Linked DNA regions of Homo sapiens: region 1 is linked to region 2. The links are contacts of gene promoters, found by promoter capture Hi-C in human tissues and cell types (Jung and others, 2019). All regions are on one chromosome and are shown on one strand. Each heading gives the region's core, a stretch centred on a gene start or on the middle of the fragment in contact. The rest is flanking DNA. Distances are from core to core; before and after follow the strand shown. Region 1 holds the start of CLIP2 (CAP-Gly domain containing linker protein 2). Region 2 holds the start of ELN (elastin).

Region 1 (6,483 bases), core at 1,026-3,525, 260 kb after region 2:
CTGCCCCATCCCGTCCCGTCCCGTCCCATCCCATCCCATCCCTTCTGTTGCCCAGGCTGGAGTGTAGTGGTATGATCTCCACTCACTGCAACCTTCGCCTTCTGGGTTCAAGCCATTCTCAAGCTTCACCCTCCCGAGTAGCTGGGATTACAGGCATGTACCACCACACCCAGCTATTTTTTGCATCTTCTGTAGAGATGGGGTTTCATCACGTTGGCCAGGCTGGTCTCGCACTCCTGACCTCAGGTTATCTGCCCGCCACCACCTCCTAAAGTGCTGGGATTACAGGTGTGAGCCACTGTGCCTGGCTGGTTTATAACTGTTGATATACAGGTTATGCATCCCAGCCACAAGGAACAATTAGCTCCCTGTTTCCTGAACACTGCCCTCTCCACCCTGAGTCCCCTCCCTCCCTATGGGTTCACACCTCCTACAGAAGCCCAGTCTTTCTGGAGTTCACTCTGAACCTCCTCCCTTATTAGTCTCCAAGTCTGGCTCTCCACACCAACTGGGCACCCCCTCAGGGCTGACCCCATGCCCAGCCTCCATCATTACAGCATTGCATGTTCGCTGAACTGAATTGAAACACTCTCCCCAATTTACAGATGGGGAAACTGAGGTCAAAATGTTTAGGCCAGGCACGGTGGCTCACAGCTGTAATCCCAGCACTTTGGGAGGCTGAGGTGGGAAGATCATCTGAAGCCAAGAGTTTAAGACCAGCCTGGACCCCAACATAATGAGACCCCATCTCTATAAAAAACACAAAAAATTAGCCGGGCATGGTGCATGCCCGTAGTCCCAGCTACTCTGGAGGCTGAGGCAGGAGGATCATTTGAGCCTGGGAGTTTGAGGCTGCAGTGAGCTGTAATCACACCACTGCACTCCAGCCTGGGTGACAGAGTGAGACCCCTTCTCTAAAAAAAGGTTCACTCACTTCTCAAAGATTATGGATACCAAGACAGTTGAGGGGTGGTAATGTTAACTTAGTAAGTTCATTCATTCATTCAACAAATATTACTGGATGTCTACCCTCTGCCAAGCATTGCACTGGGTCCCTTAGGGGATAGGAACAAGATCGTATGTGGCACTTCTCTCCCGCAGAACAGTGGTCTCACCATACAGACCACAACCTCCCCCAACACCCACATTCCTGCACTCAAGGGAAAAGCAGGGACATTTAAGCTGTGCTTTGAAGGGGGAATATGATTTGTCAAACAGAGAAAGGGGGCAGGGCAGGACTGGTAGAACGGCCAGCTAGGTCAAAGGCATCCAGGCGAGCTTATCAAGGGGGGACAGAGGGAAACCAAGCCACAGAAGCCAACCGCAGCCTGGGCATGGACAGGGGCTGGGGCTTGGTCACTGTTTAGTTCCTGAGCTGTCACTTGGCATCTGCCTCTCCACGCAGGAGGGGACCTGGCAGCTGCCTCAACTCCTCTGAAATAGCAGTACATGCATCCTGTCCTGGGGAGGGTTCATTTGTATCTTGGAAGCTGATCACCATGAGATCCTTTTTTTTTTTTCTTTTGGGACGGAGTCTCGCTCTGTCACCCAGGCTGAAGGGCCGTGGCTTGATCATGACTCACTGCAGCCTCGACCTCCTGGGCTCCAGCGATCCTCCCACCCCAGCCTCCCCAGTAGCTGGGACCGCAGGCGCGCGCCCAGCTAATTTTTGTATTTTTTGTAGAGACGAAGGTTACGTTGCCCAGGTTGTTCTCGGACTCTTGGCCTCAGGCGATCTGCACGCCTTGGCTTCCTGAAGTGCTGGGATTACAGGCGTGAGACACTGCCCAGGCTATGAGATCCTTGATAACCATGAGACCCTGTGCCACAGTTCCCCACCCACGCTGGCCCCAACACAGACCTGAAGTTTTCGCCCCAGCTGCACTGTCCCCCTCCTCATCCTTTCTGTCCAGCGCCAACAGCATCTCACCTTCCCAAGCTGCCGTCCTTCCCAATGACCAGAGACATCTTTGCAAGCATAGCATGGCTGGAGGATGCGTTTCACCAAACGCGATGTAAGCACCACCAGGTGCCCAGCGCGGAGGTGGATGTGGGCGAACCCTGGACGCCCCACAAAGGACAGCTGCGGCCTGGGAAGGGAAGGAGATGGAGCGGGGAGAGGGGGAAGAGGTTGCTCCGCGTTTTCCGCCCGCCCGCCTGCTTTCCGCGAGGCACTGAGGCCTGAAAACCGCGAGGCCGCCCACGCGCGCCTGACCCGCCCCCCCCTCCCGCCCGCCCCAGGCCCCGCCCTCCCGCGCCCGCCCCTGCGCCGGCCCCTTTTGTTCCCTCCCGGAGCCGGGCCGCTGGCTCCGCTGGCTCCGCTGGCTCCGCGGGCGCTCAGCTCGGCTCGGCCGCGGGGCGCGCAGGCGGCTGCTGGGCGGCCTCGGTGCGCGCCTCCCGCCTTCCCAGAGACGTGGCGCGAGGCCCGGGCCCTGAGCACCTATCGCGGGGATCCCCGGCGCCAGGAGGGGGTGCAGCCGGTGGGCAGCGCCGCGCAGGGAGGGGCCGCAGCATCCTCGCCCCCCAGCGCGCCCGGGCCCGAGAGGAGGAGGCCGGGGCTCTCCGGGCCTCCCGCCGCTTAGCCTGATGCTGGAAGGACGAAGGTAGGGGCTGCTGGAGGGGCCGAGGGAGGGGGTCGCGCGGGCAACAAAGGACGGAGAGATGCGGGGGGCGGCGGCCTGGCCGAAAGCGGGGCTGCGGGCCCGGAGGCATTGTCGGGGCGTGGGCGGGGGCGGGAGGGTTCGAGGCCGGCCGGTGGGCGTGGGCGGGAGCTGGCTGGGGTGTGCCCCAACTTCCCCGTTGCTTGTAGGAGAGGAGGGGGCACTGCTTGGGGTGCCAGGGTTGGGGGCTATTCCCGGGCTGCGGGTCCCCCTGTTGAAGGCATCACCAGCCTCATCGGGGTCCCTACCCTCGGACGGGGGTTTGGCCCTTCTGTTGGAGGGTCGCCCGTACCCCCTTCCAAGGGCAGAGCAAGACGGCTGGACGCGCCGCAGGGCTCTCTGGGCTCACAGAGCCTGGGGAGCACAGCCTGGTGGGCGCGGCCATGCAGCCCCCATCTCCAAACCTGGGGTCTGGGAGAACAGGGACTGCCCCCCTCTCCTCCCTGCTACACCCTCTGGGGTCGCCTGGCCGATGGCCTTTGCAAAACTTGGTTGAAGTGCTTGGCTGAGGTGGGGTAGGAGGAGATTGAGGCGGGCGGCTTCTCTCAGGGGGTGTCCCCCCAAGCTGGCGCTGGTGGCTGGTGAGGCAGCAGATTTTCTGCCCTCCTCCCGGGGAGGGGCGGCGGCCGCGGAGGATGCTTGGCTGAACCTTCAGGGCCCGCCCGTTTGGACCTTTCAGGCAGAGCTTGGGCCGAGCGGGTGCCCACTGGGCACTGCCACGCAGGCCCCAGCCCCACCCTGGGAAGGACGGGCAGAGGGAGCACCTTGGGGGGAAATCACCCACCCAGCAGTGTGTCCCCCAACGTCTGAGACCCCTCCTCTCACTTCTGGGTGAGAAGTGGGGGTCTGGGATGAGGGGGTCTGCCGTCACTCTTGCGCGATGCCTGAGGGAGGTGGGTGGGGTGGCCTAGGGCTGTGGGCAGAGGAGGAGGAGGGTGCGGGGAGCACCACGTGTGTGCTTCAGAAGCCTCTTCCCTTTCGGTTGTAAATGTAAACAATAAGCCCTTCATTCAGCTGCTGTTACCTGGCCTGGCACTTCTAGGGGCTGGCTGGTCCACAGGACAGCAGCCTCGGTGTCCCCAAAAAGTGCAGCCCCGGGGGTTGATGAGTGCATTAGTGGGGAAGCTGGGGGCATAGAGGGGGTCCCCTGGAGGATGGGGCAGACCAGGAAGCTTCATAGAGCATCTTGCAGAAGTTTGCTGCCAGGTTGCCTGAAGGGGGTTTCGTGCAGGAGAAATAGCGTGAATAAGGGCTTGGAGTCAGAAAAGGAGGCTATTGGGTTAGAGAAACAGCTTAGGATTTAAGGAACTTAGACCTGCGTTGAGCACAGGATGCATTCTTGTCTGCAGTGCCTTGCGGGGGAATGATGGGATTCTGGCTTCAGGACAGGTGGAGGCGGTGGAGATGGAGAGGGGCTCCAAAGGCAGAAGAGGCAGGTGGAGGCGCCTGGGAGGAGCCTCCTCCACACACACCTGTGTGCACCTGCAAACTCCAGCCCTCAGCACCGTGCAGGCTGGGAAGGTGGTGCCTGGAATTCTGCACTCAGAGCCCAAAGTCCCAGCAGGGGGAATTTACTCCAAGGAGCAGTAATCGCTTTCCGGCATCTGCTGTCTACCTTGGCGGTGAAGAGTTCAGATGCTGGAGCTTAACAGCCCGGGTTCAAATCCCAGCTCTGCCACTCCCTAGCTATGTGACCTTGCACATTGCATCTCTCTCTGCCTCGACATCCTCATCTGTAAAATTGGGATCCTTATGGTATCTGGCTTTTAGGGTTGTTAGGAGAACTGTGTGCCCTGTGACAGAGTAGATGTCCTATAAGTGTTGTTGCTGCCGTACAGAGTGGCTTCCTGGCCCCACTCACACACGTTTCAGGGAGAGGAGGCTCGTGCCCCTTCCAGGCTGTTTGTCCTTCTTCAGCACCCTTGCTGGTTAGCCCTGACCCGGCACCTGCTGTTCTCTGCCTCACTGCAGCCTCCTCCCTGGTCCTGCCTCCCTTGGTGATAGAAAGGCCATCTCCCCACAGCCCCAGTTGTCCCTGCTCCCCACCTGGCAGGCCTGCCCACGTGTGGTCCCCCAGTTCCCTCTTGGCCTCCCCTCCTGGCCCTGCCACCCTGACAGTTGATCCTGCCCTCTTTTTTTTTTTTTTTTTTGAAATGGAGTTTCACTCTTGTTGCCCAGACTTGAGTGCAATGGCGCGATCTTGGCTCACTGTAACCTCTGCCTCCTGGGTTCAAGCAATTCTGCCTCAGCCTCCCAAGTAGTTGGGATTACAGGCATGTGCCACCATGTCCGGCTAATTTTAGTATTTTTAGTAGAGACGGGGTTTCACCATGTTGGCCAGGCTGGTTTTGAACTCCTGACCTCAGGTGATCCACCTGCCTCAGGCTCCCAAAGTGCTGGTATTACAGGCGTGAGCCACTGCACCCAGCCAGTTCTGCCCTCTTGACACCACCTGCTCTACCTCCACTTCCATACACAGGGGAGGGAAGCTGCATTTGTGACCCTCAGATTCCCTGCTCATTGGTTCTTGTGAGAACTTCAGCTTTTGTGCAGGTTGAAAAAAAAAGTATATATTAAGTGCTTACTTTGTGGAGAATTGTTCTGAGCTTTTTTGAGACAGCATCTTGCTCTGTCGCCCAGGCTGGAGTGCAGTGGTGCCACCTCGGCTCACTGCAACCTCCACCTCCCAGATTCAAGTGATTCTCCTGCCTCAGCTTCTCGAATAGCTGGGACTACAGGCCCATGCCACCAAGACTGGCTAATTTTTTGTAGTTTTAGTAGAGGCAGGGTTTCACCATGTTGATCAAGCTGGTCTCAAACTCCTGACCTCAAGTGATCCGCCCACCTTGACCTCCCAAATTGCTGGGATTACAGGCGTGAGCCACCACGCCTGGCCTGGTTCTGAGCTCTTTAAATTCATTCCTTCATTTGTGGATATTTTAATAAGGTTGCCTACATTTTACAGATAAGAATATCCTGGCACAAAGAGGTGGCTGTGTCTGCCCTTGATGGATTTGCTAAGCACCTACTGTATGCCTGGGAGGCATGCTTCCTTCGGCCACACCATTCTACCCACCCTCTTCGGGTTCATGTCCCTGAACAATTATGATTCTGCCTTCTCAGACACCTATCCCTTTTGCTCAGGTGCAAAGTCCAAACACGCTATCTAGCTTTTAGGGTCCGCCCCCAGTTGGCTGTATCTTTCCACTGCAGCTCTCCCCATGCTCCCAGGCTGGGCACACCCAGGCTTGCCTCACCTAAGGCTGACGTGGCCCCTTTAATAAACTGTGAGGAGTGGGCATGGTTTGAGGAGCAGGGCTGGCTTTGAGGGTGGTGTGGGGGTGCCCTCCGATCCCATACCTTTGGGATTATTTTGTTGCAAGGAACAGGAACCTGCTTCAATTAGGTTAAGTGAAAAGGGACTTAAGAGTGGAGAACAGAGAACTTGTGCAGCAAACAATTGGAGGCGACCTGGCCCCCCGGGACCCCGGAAGCTGGCAGGCAGCTCCTCCTCTGGCTTTCCTCTCTGTGGACTGCGGTTTCATTTTTTCGGCCTCTCTCAGCGCATCTGTCCCGTCTCCTTCTCCTTTCCCCTACAGGCTCCGTCTCCTTGGGTTGTGAGTGTGGCTGTGTTGAATGGGGCTGTAGCCTGAGTCCACGGGACCTCCCAGTGGGGGTCTCCTTCATCTTGGGGTGCAGAGAGACACTGATTGGTCCAGCCTGGATGAGGAAGCCCACCCGCCTCTGCTCGGCTAGTGGGGGGGCAGGTCACGTGGTCTCTGGGGCTGGCACAGTTGGGATAATTGGTTGGCTGCATTGATGA
Region 2 (6,345 bases), core at 2,799-5,298:
CTCTGTCCCTCTCCCCTGTCCTCAAGCCCCGTCCCATTTTGAACCTCTGCATAGCAGGATTCAGATTCCCTTCCAAGCGCATCAGAACTAAGGCTAGCTCTGGCTGGGCATGGTGGTTCACGCCTGTAATCCCAGCACTTAGGGAAGTCGAGGCGGGAGGATCACCTGAGGTCAGGAGTTCAAGATCAGCCTGGCCAAAACGGAGAAACCCCGTCTCTACTAAAAATACAAAAATTAGCCAGGCGTGGTGGCGCGTGCCTGTAATCCCAGCTACTCAGGAGGCTGAGGCAGGAGAATTGCTTGAACCCGGGAGGCGGAGGTTGCAGTGAGCCAAGATCGTGCCACTGCACTCCAGCCTGGGTGACAGAGAAAGACTCCCTCTCAAAAAAGAAAACAAACCACCAAAAAAGAACTAAGGCTAGCTCATCTCACCAGTCCTTTATGATCTAAACCAGTGCTGTCCCCGGTGGCAGCTGCTGGCCACATGTGGCTAATGGAGCACTTGAAATGTGACAAGTCCAGATTGAGACGTACCCTCGATGCAAAATACACACCAGTTTTAAGACCTGGTACAAAAAAGAATGCAAGATATCTCAATAACTTTTATTTTGATTGGATGTTGAAAGGATTATACTTTAGATATGTTGTGTTAAATATATTACTAAGAATAGTTTTACTTATGTTTTCTTTTATTTCATATGGCTACTAGTAAATTTAAGATCATAGGAGGGGCTGGATGCGGTAGCTCACACCTGTAATCCCAGCATTTTGGGAGGCCGAGGCGGGCGGATCACCTGAGCTCAGGAGTTTGAGACCAGCCTGGCCAACATGGTGAAATCCGGTCTTTACTAAAAATACAAAAATTAGCTGGCAGTGGTGGCGGATGCCTGTAATCCCAGCTACTCGGGGGCTGAGGCAGGAGAATTGCTTGAACCTGGGAGGCAGAAATTTTAGTGAGCGGAGATCACGCCACTGCACTCCAGCCTGGGTGACAGAACGAGACTCCGTCTCAAAAAAAAAATCTGAACTTTGTCTGGATAGCGACGGAGGGTGTCTGAGCAAAGCACGATGTTCTCAGAGCCATCCAGAGACTGGGAACTCTGTCCTACCAAAATGGGTGCACCCAGAGGAGCTGGAAGATAGAGATGCCCTGTGGGTGACTCATCTGGTTGCCCCTTGGTGGCACTGAGCCAGGCAACAAGCGGGAAAGGCTTGTCAATGATAACGGCAAGACCAACGATCACCAGGCAGCCAGGTGCACCCGGTAGCCCTCTGTGGGCAATTCTGCATGTATGACCTTATTTAGTCATACAGCTAGGCAAGGAGGTGACACTAAGCATTTGAGTACTGATGGGGTCTTGAATGAACAAGTAAATGAATGAATGAATGGATGGTGGCCGATGACTGTCATCTCTAGTTCTTACATTATGTATCTTATGCATCAGACTACACGGCATGGATATTCAGTGCAATGGATTTGATTGTGAATTGAGGCCCCCTTTTGCAATCTTGTTGCATGTTATGTTCGTGGAGCTCCTGCAATGAGCAGAGGCTGCTAAGCAGAAGCAGCGCACAGGCTGGGGGCAGGACACAGGGCCCCCGGCCTCAGGGGAGAGGTCTGTTCCAGCCACCTCAAGTCTATTCCTGTGAGTGCCCCTCCACACCCCTCCTGGATCCCCCCACTGCAAACTCTCTCCCCCTGGCTCCGGACTCTCTCCCCGTCCTGGAATTAATAAAGACTCTGTGCAGACTGCGGTTTGCAAGTCTGAAAGCTGGTTCCTGCCCGTGTCACTGCCTCGAGAAGAGAGGGGTCCAGCTCCCCACAGTAGCCCCTGCCTTCCTCCTTCCCAGGCAGGCGGAGGCACGCAGATATACCATTGACTTCCCCTCCCCTGCAGCAGGCACATCCTGGGCATCGAGCTTCAGACCCTGCCCCTGAGCAGCCCCTAACCCCACCAACAAAGGGTGGCTTGGGGGGGCTTTCACCCCAGCATAATCTCCATCAGCTACCCTCAAAGCACCCCCAAATAAACACACACCGTAAGTAAGAGCTGTACACTGGCTGTGTGCGTACATCTTCAAGACAATTCTCCCAGCATGCCCCTACCTTCCAAAATTCCAGAGCTGCTCCCTCCAAAGACCCAGGGAAAAGGAAGGGTTTGTCCAGGGTCCTGGGGTGGCCCCGTATAGACCAAAGCCTGATAGCTGTCCTAGAAGCAGAGTACTTGCAGAGCGAGTGACGGCAACTGTGGTATTGACACCAGTCCTAGCACCAGCTGAACACAGAGCATTTTTGATCTAGCAGAAATACAAGACCACGTTGTATTTGTCTTTGCAATAATCTCTTAGCTAGGAATACTGATCACCTGTAGACAGATAAGGAAACTGATGCTCTGTGGAGAGGTTTTCCTACCAGAAAGGCTAGAGCCAGAAATTTACTTCTAGGTCCACCAATACCTGCCTTTGACCAATGCCTGCATTTGACCTTTCCACGCTGAGCCACCCCTGCTGGCACTCCAGACTGCCACAGTGCTCCTGCCTCCACAAGGGGTCTTTAACTCATCCCTCGGAGCCATCGTGGTGCAGGGAAAAGCCCACAGGGCGTGTGGCTTCCATGCTGTTCCCTGACTGGCTGTGACCTAGGACAAGGAACAAGTTTCCCTCTCCTATTCTCTAGGTCTCACATTTCTTCTCCTCTAGCAGTAGTGGGAAGTGAGGGGTGGGGGACACGACCCTCCCCTGTTCCATCCCACACTCCAACCCCCAAAATCCCCCAGGGTCCCCGTCCAGCTCAGTCCTGGGGGCAGAAATGCAGAGTTCTCCAGGAACGTGGTCCCAGCTGTTTCAGTGCAGGCCGCCCCCTCCTGGCCACCAGCGGAATGTCAGCCTTCCCAGAGGGGCCGGGAGAACAGCAGTCGAGAAGCTCCCAGACTGGTGTGGGCGCTAGCTGTGCTCAGCGTGGGGATGGGAGGTGACCCAGTGATAATGGGAAGCTGGGCTGCCTGTCAGTCTGCGGGGGGCTCCCACCTCCCTGTTCCCCCACAGGGCACCTGGGGATCCAGCCTGATTTTTACCAGACCCTGCGGCCTGCATGGGGCTGGGTATAGGGCTGTGACCTTGACCCATGCAGAATAGAACCCTGTGTGTCGGGATCCTCCATGTGCTCCAGATGCCCCTGGGGACAGCACCAACATGGCCTTAACTCCCAAGCCATTCCCCTGCCTCTAACCCCCTGGCATCTGCAGGCATCCACCCCAGACCCACCCAACACCTCCTCCCCAGCTTCAGGCGCTAGGCAGAGACCTTGGCCCCTGCAGAATGCAGCCCTGTCCAGGGTCCCCTACCTTCCCCCCAGATCCCTCCCAGAGCAATACCAACCCGGGCCTACCTTCCAGGCCATTCAACCTGCAGCCCCCCGGCCTCTGTAGACATCGCACCCCCCAAACCCCCAGACCTGCCCAATGCCTCCCCTCCCCAGCTTTGGGCAGAACCTGTCTCTAGCCAGACCTGGGGGTGTTGGGGAGTCTGGAGGGCCGGGGTGGGGGCTGAGGCGCGGGACAGCTGGCCCGTATCCTCACACTGGGCCCGGGGCCCAGCCGGAGGGGCGGGGGCCTGGCCACTCGGGCCTTGGCTGGGGCTGGGATTTTTGGCCTGGCCGCCAGGCCCTCCCTTCTGCTTCCTCTCCCGAGGGCTGTCCTGGCAGAGGCCCCCCTCGCTCTTTCTGGCGGGAACAGGGCCAGCAGCGAAAGAACAGTCGCAGAGGGAAAGCGGGAAAGAGATGGGGGAAAGTGTGTGTGTGTGAGTGTGTGCTTGTGTGCATGTGTGTGCGTGTGTGTGTCAAGGAAAAAAGCTCGCAGTCCAGCAGCCCGGGCCTGGGAGGCTTGTGAGCCGGGCCTTTCGTAATTGTCCCCTCCCCGCGGCCCCCTCCCCCAGGCCTCCCCCCTCTCCCGCCCTCCCGCCCGCCCTCTCTCCCTCCCTCTTTCCCTCACAGCCGACGAGGCAACAATTAGGCTTTGGGGATAAAACGAGGTGCGGAGAGCGGGCTGGGGCATTTCTCCCCGAGATGGCGGGTCTGACGGCGGCGGCCCCGCGGCCCGGAGTCCTCCTGCTCCTGCTGTCCATCCTCCACCCCTCTCGGCCTGGAGGTAAGGACCCCTCGCCCCTGTCCCCAGCGCTGCCCACAGCTGCGGGCCCTTTGGGCCAGGTGACTAGACGCTCAAGGGGGAGACCTTCGTCCCTGGGAACTGCAAGGGGTCCCAGGTGGGAGCCCCTCAGCCACTGGGTCCTCGGAACTGCCCCTCCCAGGAGCCAGCCCCGTGCCCAGGAGGAACCTGTCAAAGAGACACCCTCGACTCAGAATAGTCCCAGCCCAGCATCCAGGCTTTGCTGCCCTGCGAGGGCTGAGGGGGCCCCTGCTCAGGTGCCCGGGTGCCCGCCCTGTAGGGGGATCAGAGCATCCTGGGGGAGGGCCCAGCGGGAACCCCTGGGTCTGGAGACACCACAGTCTGCACACCTGTGGACACAGCTGGGGTGCACACCAGCCCTGGGGACAGGGAACCTGGGCTTGATACCAGCTCAACCGCAGTGAGCTGTGTGACCTCAGCAGGTTCCTTGACCCCTGGGAAGCCGGGATCCCCCCGTCAGGAAGGTCAGGGCTCCGCTGAGGATGGGTTTGCAGGTTGGGAAGCTGCTGCTGTGTTCTCCCTGCTGAGGCAGGCAGGGACTCCTGGTATGCATTTGTGTGTGTGTGTGTGTGTGCATGCACACAGGAATGAGCGTGCTGTGTGCTCGTGTGTGTATGTGTGCATGCACAGGTGTGCATGTGTTCAGATGCCCGGCTGTGTCACTGAACAGGGAAAGGGATTTCTGGAGGGGTACATATGTCTGCTCACAGGTTCATCCTTAGGCAGGTGTATGCGTATGTTTGGAGGAGGTATATGAAGCTGCTCCTTAGTGTGTGCAAAAGTCTGCCACCTGACAGACATGTAGACATGTACACATGTAGACATGGGCGATCTGGCATCCAGGTGTGACACTGGTGTGGACTGTCACTGTGTGTGTTATGGAGTGTGTACATCTGTGTGTGTGAATGTGTGTGCGATGTGGCACGCAAGCATGGAAAGGCGGGCTGGAGAAGGTGTCTGTCTCCTGGCAGAGGCAGTGTGGCTGAGACAGAGGCTGGAGTGGATCCTGGGGCACTGCTGGGCCATCTGCTATGTGCCCCAACCCAGGCACAGTTGGTTATGGGGTTTGAGGGTGTGCCCTGTGGGGCTGCTATGCCGCGGCCAACGGGGGAGGACAGAAGAGGCTCCCGGGCATGGGAAAAAGGAGGGCATTTGGTAGGGGGGTCTGGGTGGAGTCTGGTTTCCTCGGGAGTCCTCCTTGCCATGAGAACCAAACGCTGAGTGGGGGGCGGGAGGGCCACGGGGTGGAGTCAAGGGCCTGGGCAGGAGCTGCAGCTGTTTCCGTGAGATTGAACAGCTTCCTGTGCAGGGTCCGCTGCTGGACCTGGATGAGGCCAAGGGACATGGGTACCCACAGGCGGGCCCCAGCAGGGGCAACGAGCCAGGGCCTGAAAGCAGCAGCCCCGGGTCCGTCTCAGCCTCCTCCCCAGGTGTAGCCCCCAAACACCCAGCCACCCTTCTTCCCAGATGGGGCCACCACCTATAGGGTGGCAGTTCATCATCAAGGAACCTTGAGAATTAGAAATTATTATCATCACTTGACAAACAAGGAAGCTGAGGCTCCGGCAGGCTAAGGCAGTCCCCGGGGGTTAGTATCAGCCAGCTCTCTGCCCCAGGTCAAGGGGCAAGGGGGTTAGGAGTGAGCTAGCAGGCAACATTTGGGGAGGGGAAGGCTTGGGGCTGAGTCCTTAAAGCAGGCATGCCCTAGGCAGAATCAGCTCTCTCCTTGTGTCCTCAGTGACACCGCTAAACGCCCAGCTGGCCTCACACTTTGCAGAGATCAATCTCAGCTCTGTCCCAGGTGGCTGGACTTGCTAGGTCCAAATAAGGGGTGTGTGAACTGATGAGCTCGTGTGGGGTTTTGCACAGAAGTGCTACTGAAGTCTGCAGAGGTCGGGGAGCCAACACAGGGAGTGGAGCGCTCAGTCACATGCTCACTGCCACTCACCTGGCTGTCCTGGGGGAGCCTGGCTTCTCCCTCAAGGAGGAGGGTGTCACTTATGCAAGTTCAGCGGCTCCAAGGAAGGAACCCTGTTGCGGGGGTGGGGGAGCAGGAGGAGGGGACAAGCCGCACAGCTCCCAGGCTGTTTCAAAAGTGAGCATGAGAAATTAACCCAGGGATAATTCTTCCCCATCCCCCAGAAATAGTATCAGGGATTTT

The links. The method cuts DNA at HindIII sites, captures the fragments that hold promoters and counts their contacts. A contact is called where the count stands out against the background at its distance.
Region 1: the fragment with the promoter of CLIP2 here is called in contact with the fragment with the promoter of ELN in region 2 in 1 of the 25 tissues and cell types used here (aorta).

What each region holds. Positions count from the first base shown.
Region 1 is chr7:74,287,132-74,293,614 of GRCh38, forward strand. It overlaps CLIP2 (CAP-Gly domain containing linker protein 2), which reads left to right and starts at 2,276. Exons shown (of 17, transcript NM_003388.5): 1 at 2,276-2,603. It overlaps LOC107986742 (a long non-coding RNA gene), which reads right to left and starts at 2,176. Exons shown (of 2, transcript XR_001745024.2): 1 at 1,931-2,176. RefSeq lists silencers at 2,195-2,664, 2,685-2,754 and enhancers at 2,630-3,274, 3,275-3,918. The HindIII fragment of the contact is 6,317 bases long and covers 1-5,719 here.
Region 2 is chr7:74,024,125-74,030,469 of GRCh38, forward strand. It overlaps ELN (elastin), which reads left to right and starts at 4,049. Exons shown (of 33, transcript NM_000501.4): 1 at 4,049-4,145. The coding sequence starts at 4,064. RefSeq lists enhancers at 2,460-3,432, 4,405-5,376. The HindIII fragment of the contact is 22,090 bases long and covers 1-6,345 here.